Regions from separate parts of the Homo sapiens genome. Here regions 2 and 3 are each linked to region 1. Evidence: promoter capture Hi-C in human tissues and cell types (Jung and others, 2019). All regions are on one chromosome and are shown on one strand. Each heading gives the region's core, a stretch centred on a gene start or on the middle of the fragment in contact. The rest is flanking DNA. Distances are from core to core; before and after follow the strand shown.

Region 1 (3,217 bases), core at 173-2,672:
CCGGCCCTAATACAGTTTATTTTAAACAGTGGATCAAACACATAAGCCATTTAATTTCTGCTGTCTAGGTGTTTTCGGGTTTTCTTCCATCATTAAATATTGTGCTGACCTGGTAACTTGGTAGCAATACGATGGCAAGGACTAAATTTACACCAAAAATAAAGTGCTGATTATATCACGTATATTTTAAAATACAACAGGTAAGATTTATTCTAAAGCTGTCAAAGAATGTTGGCTATAGAAAAAGTGACATTTGAGCTGGATTCTGAAGGATATATGAATCATTCACCAAATCGGGAGTAGACTGGGAATGGCACTGAAGATGTGGAAGTCTGACTAAAGAATTTGAACTTTACCTCACTGGACAACGCAAACCTACCAATGAGGTAGCTTTTATATAATTTTTCTGCAGAAAAGTGATATAAGATGCCTTTTAAAACTGGTATCGGCCAATATAAAAGGATAAAGTGCAGAAGCATGAGGCAATTAAAACTGTTTGGGAGGCTACATTTAAGAAGGAGTTATGAACAGCGGGGTTGGAACGAGAGGGCAAATTGGAGCGACACTTTAGGAGGTAGAACCAAGATAATTTACCATCCAAGTCAATGGGAGGGAGTCAAGGAAGGCTTCAACTTGAAAGACTTATCATGAAAGGTGACAGAATATGAAGAACGACATCTAATTTCATCTCCTATCTCTGACACACAACCATCCTAAACAACTTGCAACTCCACCAAGCCAGGCTTTTTGCACTTGCTGTTCCATCTATCTGTGCTGCCTAGTGAGTTTGGCGAGCTCATGCTTCCCAAGCAGCACTTTCTTCAGAGGGCCTGCCCTGACTACAACCAAAAAAGGTGCCTAGTCCCTGTGCTCCAGTACCCCGCAGCGCAGCCCTCTAATAAAAACAGGCCCCAAGCCAGTTTACACATCTGTCTCTCTCTCGACAGCTGGCATCCAGTCTACCCTTCACTACCGTCTCCCCAATGCTGAGCCCCCAAGGAGCGTTCCATAAATGTTAAGTGGCTGGCCGCGGACGAAGAGGCTCAGACCGCGCGAGTTCTTATCATTACTAAAATTCCCTCTAACGGGAAAAACCGCCGCCCAGAGTGCCAGAGGGCTGCGGACCCCACGTCCATGACCCTCATGCACCCGAAACTCCCGAGCTGGCCCTCCCCGCCGAACCCCGAGAACGAGCACAAACGCAGGGCCGGCCGGCTCCGGGGTCAGTCCCCCGGCCCAGCTCCAGCCCGGCTCTCAGGCTCGCCGCATTACCTAGACAGGACCTCCAAGTCCTCAAGCGCAGACAGCAGCCGCTCTCGTGTGCTGTTACCACCCGCCACTCCCAAACCGCCTCCCAGCCGCTCCTTCTCCTTCTCACCACTCGAAGACGCAGCCATTTTCCCCAGAGTCCCGCCACCGGCGCACGCGCAGAGCGAGCTGACGCAGGTGCGTGGCGAGAAGGCGGGCTCGGAAGGCGGAAGAGTCACCCAGGAGAGGAAAAAGAGGCCTGGCGAGAGCGCCCCCTTTGGGCCTGGAGGCGCACTGCGGACACCGGCGCCATCTGTTGGGCCGGCGAGGGCTTTCTGGTCCAAACCCTGGGAGCGACAGCTGAACTGAGAACAGTGGGGGCAACGCAGTCTGATTCTCCTGGGCCTAATGGTTTTTTTTCTTTCTTTCTTTCTTTTTTTTTTTTTGAGACGAGTCTCGCTCTGTTGCCCAGACTGGAGTGCATCGCCGCGGATGTCTTGGCTCACTGCAAGTTCCGCCTCCTGGGTTCACGCCATTTTTCCTGCCTCAGCCTCCCGAGTAGCTGGGACTACAGGCGACCGCCACCACGCCCGGCTAATTTTTTGTATTTTTAGTAGAGACGGGGTTTCACCTTGTTAGCCAGGATGGTCTCAATCTCCTGACCTCGTGATCCGCCTGCCTCAGCCTCCCAAAGTGGTGGAATTACAGGCGTGAGCCACCGCACCCGGCCCACCTTAACCATTTTTAAGTGGATAGTTCAGTGGCATTAAATACATTCATACTGTTGAGCAACTATCCATCTCCAAAACCTTTTATCTTGTAAAACAAACTCTGTACTCACTAAATGCTAACTCCTTATCCCTCCCTTCTCCAGGCCCTGGCAACCACCATTCTACTTTCCATTGCTGTAAGTTTGGCTACTCTAGGTACCTCATATAAGCAGAATCATACAGTATTTGTCTTTTTGTGTCTGGCTTATGTCACTCAGCATTATGTCCTCCAGGTTCATCCATGATGTAGCATGTGCTGGAATATCTTTCCTTTTTAAGACTAATATTCCATTGTATGCATATGGCACCTTTTGTTCATCCATTCATCTGACGATGGACAGTTAGGTTACTTCCACATTGCTATAATCCATCTTTATAGCCATACATCTTCCAACAAAATGTTTTGCTCATTACTCAGGTTAATTATTGAACTGAAGGAACCAATACAGTACATAAGTAGTAGTTAATTAACATAGTTTAAGTCATTGATGTACCACACATTCCAAACCAGAACTGGTTGTCAAAGGCAAAAATACGTCTTAGCCTACTTTTCCTAGGGATAACAATGTAGTAGGGATCACTCTCTACCAGAAAAAAGCAAAGTTACAAGCCTATTGGGAATGAGGATTCCATATTGCTATTATAAAAGATGGTCTGGGACTGCCTCACTCCCATGAGGTAGTAGTACCTGTAGTCCTTTCATTTCAGGGTCTCATCCTCTACTCTGTCTTTTTGGAGGTGCTAAACCTGACTCCTGGGCACCCAGAGTTGACAAGTCTTTTAGAAATTCATGTTAAATAAATTCACTCATAGCAACTGCTGCGTAATCTAGAATGCTGATTTACTCACTTACGATGAAAAGTAATAGTGCCAAACATATCTTTTTCCCATAGACAAAACTATATGAGAAGCCATATTATCACAGGATGTTGCTTGTTAAACTTGGATCAGAACAAACAAGGATAGATTAAAAATTAATGACACAATCATGAGGCTTTGTGTCTCCACAGTGTAGGGATATTTGTGTTCAAGAGATTGGATTATTTGTGTTCATAGGTCAGGGTACCTTTTCCTCTAGACAGTGCAAGAGATCCTTGTCACCTTTTGTTTTCTGACCGTTCCCTGCATCTGCTGTTGGCTAACCCTTTTTTGTTAATGCAGTCAATTCTCAGGCAATGGGCTAAAGTAGATTGAAGCTT
Region 2 (3,557 bases), core at 282-2,781, 1.3 Mb before region 1:
TTGTTTAACTGTATGGTTGATGTTAACAGAGATGAAAAAAGATGTAATTATCATGCAACAAGACAGTATACCTCTGGAATAGAAAAATAATTTCCTATGCATTACACATTAGTATTTTGACAGTAGTGCCAACATGATATATGAATTGAGTTGCTCAATCTCTGCTTTGAAGTATCTTAATCTGTACAATGGGAATAGCAAAACTATCCTCTTTCATAAAGGCCATGTCATGAGTAAAATTCAATGAGGAAAATGTACAGCATGGTATTTTGGAGTCATGATGCCACTTGAAAGGTTAATAGAGATAACAGCAAAAATATAAAATGAATTGTATAATGTATATATCATACCACTTTATACCAGTCTTAAAGATTTAGATTTTTACAAAGGATATCTAGACCACAAACACTTACGAGGGCTGGTATCTGGAGCAATGACAACAAGACCATGTTCTGAAGCAGACTGATGATAACCAGATTTTGATATAAAATTTTGCTCTGTGCAAGTTAAACCTGAAGATAAAAAATATTGTTATTGGGCACACATGGACATGAAGATGTGCACCATTAATACTGGGGACTATTAGAGCAGGGGGAGACGGAGACGGACAAGGGCTGAAAAACTACCAGTTAGGTACTATGTTCACTACCCGGGTGATGGTATCTTTCATACCCCAAACCTCCATGTCACGCAATACGCTCATATAACAAACCTGCACGTGTACCCCTTTAATCTAAAATAAAAGTTGAAATTATTAAAAATAAATTATCTCATGCTATATTGTGAATGGTTTATAAGCTTTAAACTGTTTATAATACAGGAAAACAAGCTCATTTGGTATTATTATTTTTTTTGCTTTAGAAACAATTTTGAGTAAGACACTAAAATTCACTTTTTCACAAAATTTGTAATAGTATTAACCTAAGAACTGTGTTAGGTTAAGTGATCCCATAACTATCCTTTTAAAATCACTACTAAAGTTTCAATTACTAAAATCCTTTGGACCAGGAGTGTTTGGGAATTCAGAAATTTTCAAACTGTAGAGTGACAATATGGTGCATAAGCCCAATATTAAAACAACCCCAGTGAAGTGTTATCAAATATGCTAATTAAACATCGCACTATTTCTGCACCAAAACATATTCACAGTAAATAAGCAAATACTATGGTCTTCATAATACAAATACTTTTTTTTACATACAGATAGTTCTCAGCAACAAAATTTAGCTTAATCATCTTTGTATTCTTCACTGAACTAAAAAGAGAGTAATGGTGACCATATGCCATCCTTAAATTGAGTTTTAGCCTCAGTTTTTAGAAGTTTCTGTTATTTTTCCTAGCTCCATGCTTTTCAGTCATGATAGAGGAGATGACTTAATTCTTTTACTATAGGTATCTAATACTACAATGATGTGAGAATGGTGAGGAATGAACTAGCAATCGATTTTATTGATCATTTCACCAGTTGAGAGAGATTTGGTTTGTTTATACTTTTTGGCTATTATAATAGTGTGCCATGAACATTCATGTGCAAGTTTCTGTATGGACATGTTTTCAATTCTATTGGGTACACAGCTAATAAAGGGCTGTTTCAATGGTCACCTTCACTTGGGAAAGATACAAATCACTACACATGAACTATCTTTTAAGATTTCAGTTTGGCTGTTTTGATTTCAGCTAATTTCTCTATTTTAGCTATATAATAATTGTGTAATCTTTCTGTCATTGTTTTCCTTAGACTTGCTGGGAAGTAAACCTTCTGAAATTTTTTTGTCACCATTTCTCACGTGCACTGGTCAGGCAATCTTACCTTTACTCAGAAAATCAAGCCTTAATTTCCAAGGTCTATCTGTTCTTCAGCATCTCACTAAGGAAACTGTCCTGTCATTTGATGTAAACAAACAAAAATTCTGTATTTTATACTTGTAAAGCTCAGATATGTCTTGCTAGATTCAATTTTAGTTAAAACTTAGGGCCCTATTATTAGAGTACCTATGACACAATGCCTCAGGGCTTCTGGTTATTATTGTTTAGCCAAGAGATATGACTATAGTACCCCTCACCAGAAACAAAACGCAAAAACAACAGGAGAAAAAACTAAATACAGCTCTGGACTGTGAGTCAGAAAACTTGTTCAACTCCACATTAGCGTGTGACCCTGGACAATATTTAGCTTCACTGGGCCTCATTTTCTTTCTAGGGATTACATGATTTCTAAGATCATTTTTAGCTATACAATATTATATTTTCTAAGACAATTAAATAACTAATTTTGTTGCTCTTGCTTTTAGCAATACCTAATGCTCTTCTAGCAAAATCAGTGCTCTTCATTCAATCACAGAAATGTTTTCTTGAGTTAAAGTCAGATATGCACTTAATCTTTACCCTTTAAGATGAAATATTTATTCTCATTTTCAAAGACTGGTATTTGGGACTTGTCCTTGATGAAACACACATGAGGGAGGATTTGTTAAATCAAAGTTACAGGAACCAATTTGAAGGAAACAAAATTAAAATAGTACTCTGTGACACAATTTAGTTGCTAGGATTCTCTCCTTATGTTTGCTTCTGAAGATGAAGTACCAGCGTCTTGTGAAAGAAAAGTTAGCATAGAGGTTTCAAAACTGCAGGTGTCAAAATCTTACTCTTCACAATCTATTCTACAGTAGTTAATATGAAACACTGATTAAGAGAAGCCTTAGCGTTCTTTTGTGACTTTCCAGATTGTTGTCAGAGAAGCTCTATGGAGTCCAGTTAAAATATTTTAGAGAACACTGTAAGTTATTTGACTTTTTACAATAGCTGGTTTCTAATTAGAGTATCTTGGTGTCCTGATTTCACCTAATATTGTTCTAATGGACTAGTAAAGTCTCTATAAACTCCAGAAATGCTTGGGTAGGTCCAAATTAAGTAAATAAGTTTTCTAAGCCCTTGCTATTGAGTACAGAACTTTACATTCTCTGCTAAATTACTTGGTCTATTAGAAAAATATATGAAATAAATATAATTCAGTAGGTCTGAAATTATTCTGAGGATAAAAGTAACAGAGTAGACTATGACAGGTCCTTAAAGTCTTTCATAAATGGCTCAAAAAGCCTACCAAGTTAAAATAAAAGGGTAAGATAAGCCAGTTAAAAAGAAAATAGAAACGACTTTATAAAACTCAAATGCATAATACTTACCTGAGAGCCAATACAGTGCAGGGCACTTTCCTGTTTCTGCCTTTGGTGGTAAGTAGACAGCAAATTTCATTTTGCAGTTTAGTTCAACACTAGTTTTAACAAAAACAACAACAAAATATTAATGCCCCTCATTAATCAATACAGAAACAAAATAATTATGCACTATATAAAAAGTAAGATATATACTAAAGGTCCAAAATAAGTTATTTAATGTTCAAAATAAGTGGTTCCACTAACATTTAACGAATATACTTGTCCCTTAAAGAAAGAATGTGGTCAATTTAGCATACTGATCTAAACCAACCTGAGCCTATACTTTGCATGGCACTGTCATTCTGGGCAAAATAAGTGAAAAAATAAATGTAATTCATTGTG
Region 3 (3,668 bases), core at 574-3,073, 1.5 Mb after region 1:
ACGGGGTTTCACCATGTTGGCCAAGCTGGTCTTGAACTCCTGGCCTCGTGTAATCTGTCGCCTCAATCTCCCAAAATGCTGGGATTACAGATGTAAGCCACTGCGCCTGGCCAATATGTAACATTTTTAACTTTTTGTAAAACCAGAGAATATTTTGAAATGTGTCCGAATGCCCTGCCTAGATTCTAGACTCTGTGAGGCCCCAGCCTCCTTTCCTATGCATGACTTACTGTTTAATGTAGTACACACAGAAGGGATATCATCATCATAATAAAGGTCCTCACTTTCCTTCACAGTTTCATCTACCCCACAATGACTCCCAGGAAAAGGAGGGTACTGTTTCAGACTTCCCAGCTCCCGTATATTAGGTGGAGCCAAGTTCTTGCTGCAGCATACGGGCACGCTTTAAAATTTTCAAATCATTTTTTAAAAGCTACAAGCTTGACAGCTTTGGGTTTTTATGGCTACTTGTTTTCTGAAGTTCACAGAACTTTATCATTTGGATCACACACTTAAAAAAATCACTTGCAAAAATCTCTTTAAAGATGAATATGCTTCCTCTTCAAGAGAAACAGACTAGCGGGTAGAAGAAAAAGGACCCGTCTAGAGTATTAATAAATAGACTGATATTCACACAATGGATTAAATGGATTAAAGTCCATCCCACAGATGAACTGTTATATTAATAGAATCCAAATATACAGTTACATCCTCGACCCTGAAAGCAGTTTAAACGGGTGAAATTCACCCAGTGCTCACTTGAAATGAGTACTCTAAAGTTTAAAGCACCTATAAACTGCCCTCAGGATTCAATCATTTTTCCATTCCTTCCGGCATTATATACTTTGATGTTTTAATGTTATTAGCCCACAATACACACCAGTTTCAGAAACTCAGTTTTTGTCCTCTAAGGGCTTTTAGTCCTCCCAAAAAAAGAATAGGGCAAAAGCAAGGAAGATCATGAATCTGGTTTTCTAAAAGCATTATTACAAGACTGCTTTATAAAATTGTAATCCCCAGCTGCAGAGTTCCGCAGATGGCTTGAAAGTGTCTTACATGCAAATAAATAAAAACAAAAGGCCACTTATGCGAGCAGAACACAGCGTGCTCGATAGTCATCTTAAACCGAGCAGGTAGGTACTTTATCAGAGGCAGACAAGGGAAACGTCACTTATTTAGAGTTCACCGCACGCCTGGATAAAAGTCCTCACTAACAAAATCCCTGCCTTTGTGGATTCTGTGTCGGAAAGGGAAACGATAAAGAATACGGTTTGTGACAGCACTACTCTCAGGAGACGAAGGAGAGATGCTAAGATCTTGGAAAGGAGAGAGAATAGGAAGAGTCGGAGGGGAGATCTCCTCTCAGTAAAACGGCACCCACAGCAGTCAGACTTCAGCTACGAGCAAAATCGAGTCCGTGCACCTCAAAAAAGAGAGGGAGGCAGGGAAAACTTTCCCTCGCCTCTCCCCATCCTTCCCTCCTCCTCGCAGGAGAGCACATTAGCTGAGGTGCTGGCGGGGCCGGGCCGGGGACCCCATCCCTCGCCCCGGACGCAGCGCCCGCAGGGACTGCCCGGGAGCCCGAGCGAGGGAGGCGGGAGGTACAGGAGTAACGGGGCACTCCCGGCCCGGCCTGCGGGGAAGGGAAGCAGGGGCAGGGCCGAGGGGGAAGAGGCCTCCGCGAGCTCGACCCCGCGCCCACACGCTACCTGCGAGGTCAGCTGCTGCCGCGCCGTCCCGCGGGACCGCAGGGATCTCCGAAGCTCCAATGGGCGCAGAAGTGCGAGCGAGCGGCGGTGCCCACCGGCAGCGAAGAGGAGGAGCGCCAGGGCGCCGGGCCCGCCGGGTCACGTGGCCCCGGCCGCCTCACGTGACCCGGTGCAGCGCGCGCCCGGGACGCTACCCAGCCGAGCATCCCGCACCGCCCCGGCCCCGGCCCCGGCCGAAACCCTGCTCTTCGGGCCCTACAACCCGACTTCTTTAGAAGCCGATTGGCCGTCTCAGGCCCGCCCCGAGGCCCTGCCACTGGAGTGTCCCCATGAAATCCGGTGGCTGCTGCCGGGACTTAGAGGCTTTTGTGTCTGAGGAACCAGGAACGCGCGAGGCACGGGCTCCTGCTCTGCTCCCCGAGATGGCTTGGCTGTGGGGAGGGTCGGCCTACCACCCCAGAGACCTAGGACGGAAAAGCGACCGAGAAACTTGGCTCCCTGCCCACTCTAGAGCGCGTCTGGCCCCGGGGCACCACCCAGGTGGTGCTGCCTGGGAGGAAAGGCGGCGGAGCTGGGACTAGTTTGTTTTTACTGGAGACGCGCCTCCCTCCCTCCCCGCCCCTCACTTCCTGATTGAAAGTACCTGAGGCAGGCCAGGGACTAGGGAAGGTGGCAGCTGGACAAAGGTATGAAGGAAGGACGAGATGAGGCACAGGTCCTGGTATTGGAAAGAGGCAGAGGTACCTCGGAAGCATGCCATAGAGGTTAGACGGGACCTAAGAGGGCATCTGGTCCAACCGGATTCGTGTTACCAGCGAGTAAACTGAGGCCAGGAGAGGGACTGCTACGAGCTGCTCCAGCCTATCACCTATAAAGACTACAGTCCCTTTGTAAAATACCATACAGCTCTCGGAGAACTCCCAGTTGGCGCTGCAGGATAAAATCCAAACTTGTTGGCATAGCATTCCAGCCACTTGTTCACTTACCTTTCCCATTTGAGCTCCTAGGAATAAACAGAAAAACATTTCATTTTCTAAATATCACCAGATAACTTCACTTTTGGTAACTTGAATTATTAAAAAAGTCCTACCGTCCCTCATCTCTTGCCACTTCCCCAACATTACTGGAGGCTCTGGCTACAAATAATTTGTTTTCCTTGACTACTCAACTTTCTTTGGATTATTTACTTTTTCTCTAAGTTTCTTTACTCCTTTTTGCTTTGTTCATTCTTTTGTCTGTATCTGAAATGTCCTGAATCACCACCTCCCCCACTTAAAGAAAACCAGGGCCAATGATTAAAAAAAAAAAAAAAGGTATTAAGAAACTAATGCAATAAGAGAATTGAGCTTAGTTCTGTATCTATTCTGAGGTCTCGCTCCTGTTGCACTAGTTCCTGAATAAAATGTTTTTACCACTTCAACTACTGTTTGGCTCTGGTTTTCTTCAACAGCCTCCAAAGTACACATCAGTTTCCTACTCATCTTTCAAAATCCAGGTCAAATGCCGCCTACTCTTGTCTTCCCAGCATCCTCTTCCCTGATTTTTTAGCAATTGAAGTTCATCCAGACAGTGTCAGCTGCAACTTCTTCCCTGATTTCCAGAATACTATATATATTCTGATACACCTCACACTGCCCAGAAATAGACTGCGCATTTCCTGTAAAAGGTGAATTGTCTATTGCTGTCTTCTCCCTTAGATTATAAACTCTTTGAAACAGGATTCTTCTGGGTTTAGAACAGCGCCTGGCATGTGATAGACCCTTAATACTCACTGAATGAAGTGGCTTGCCCAAAGTAGTGGCAGTTGAGTGAATTTACTAGAAGAGGCCTGTTTTGCTCAAAGAAACTAAAATCAGTTTCTTTTGGTTGCAACCCGATCAAAAGAACTTGTGTAAACATGTCTGAGAGAAAAACGAGGGCATGGGGTGTGAGCAATCAAATATGTCCTGAGCCCTCACT

The links. The method cuts DNA at HindIII sites, captures the fragments that hold promoters and counts their contacts. A contact is called where the count stands out against the background at its distance.
Region 2: a fragment that was not itself captured here is called in contact with the fragment with the promoter of MED4 in region 1 in 1 of the 25 tissues and cell types used here (dorsolateral prefrontal cortex).
Region 3: a contact is called between the fragment with the promoter of RCBTB1 here and the fragment with the promoter of MED4 in region 1, in 1 of the 25 tissues and cell types used here (hippocampus).

Annotation. Positions count from the first base shown.
Region 1 is chr13:48,093,682-48,096,898 of GRCh38, forward strand. MED4 (mediator complex subunit 4) reads right to left here and starts at 1,423. Exons shown (of 7, transcript NM_014166.4): 1 at 1,273-1,423. The coding sequence starts at 1,397. RefSeq lists a silencer at 632-926. The HindIII fragment of the contact is 12,809 bases long and covers 1-3,217 here.
Region 2 is chr13:46,783,839-46,787,395 of GRCh38, forward strand. It overlaps ESD (esterase D), which reads right to left. Exons shown (of 10, transcript NM_001984.2): 4 at 3,183-3,271; 5 at 414-512. Among named protein-coding and RNA genes, the nearest start is that of ESD, 12 kb to the right of the region's middle. The HindIII fragment of the contact is 5,026 bases long and covers 1-3,557 here.
Region 3 is chr13:49,583,735-49,587,402 of GRCh38, forward strand. It overlaps RCBTB1 (RCC1 and BTB domain containing protein 1), which reads right to left and starts at 1,824. Exons shown (of 13, transcript NM_018191.4): 1 at 1,710-1,824. RefSeq lists a silencer at 1,348-2,057. The HindIII fragment of the contact is 9,086 bases long and covers 1-3,668 here.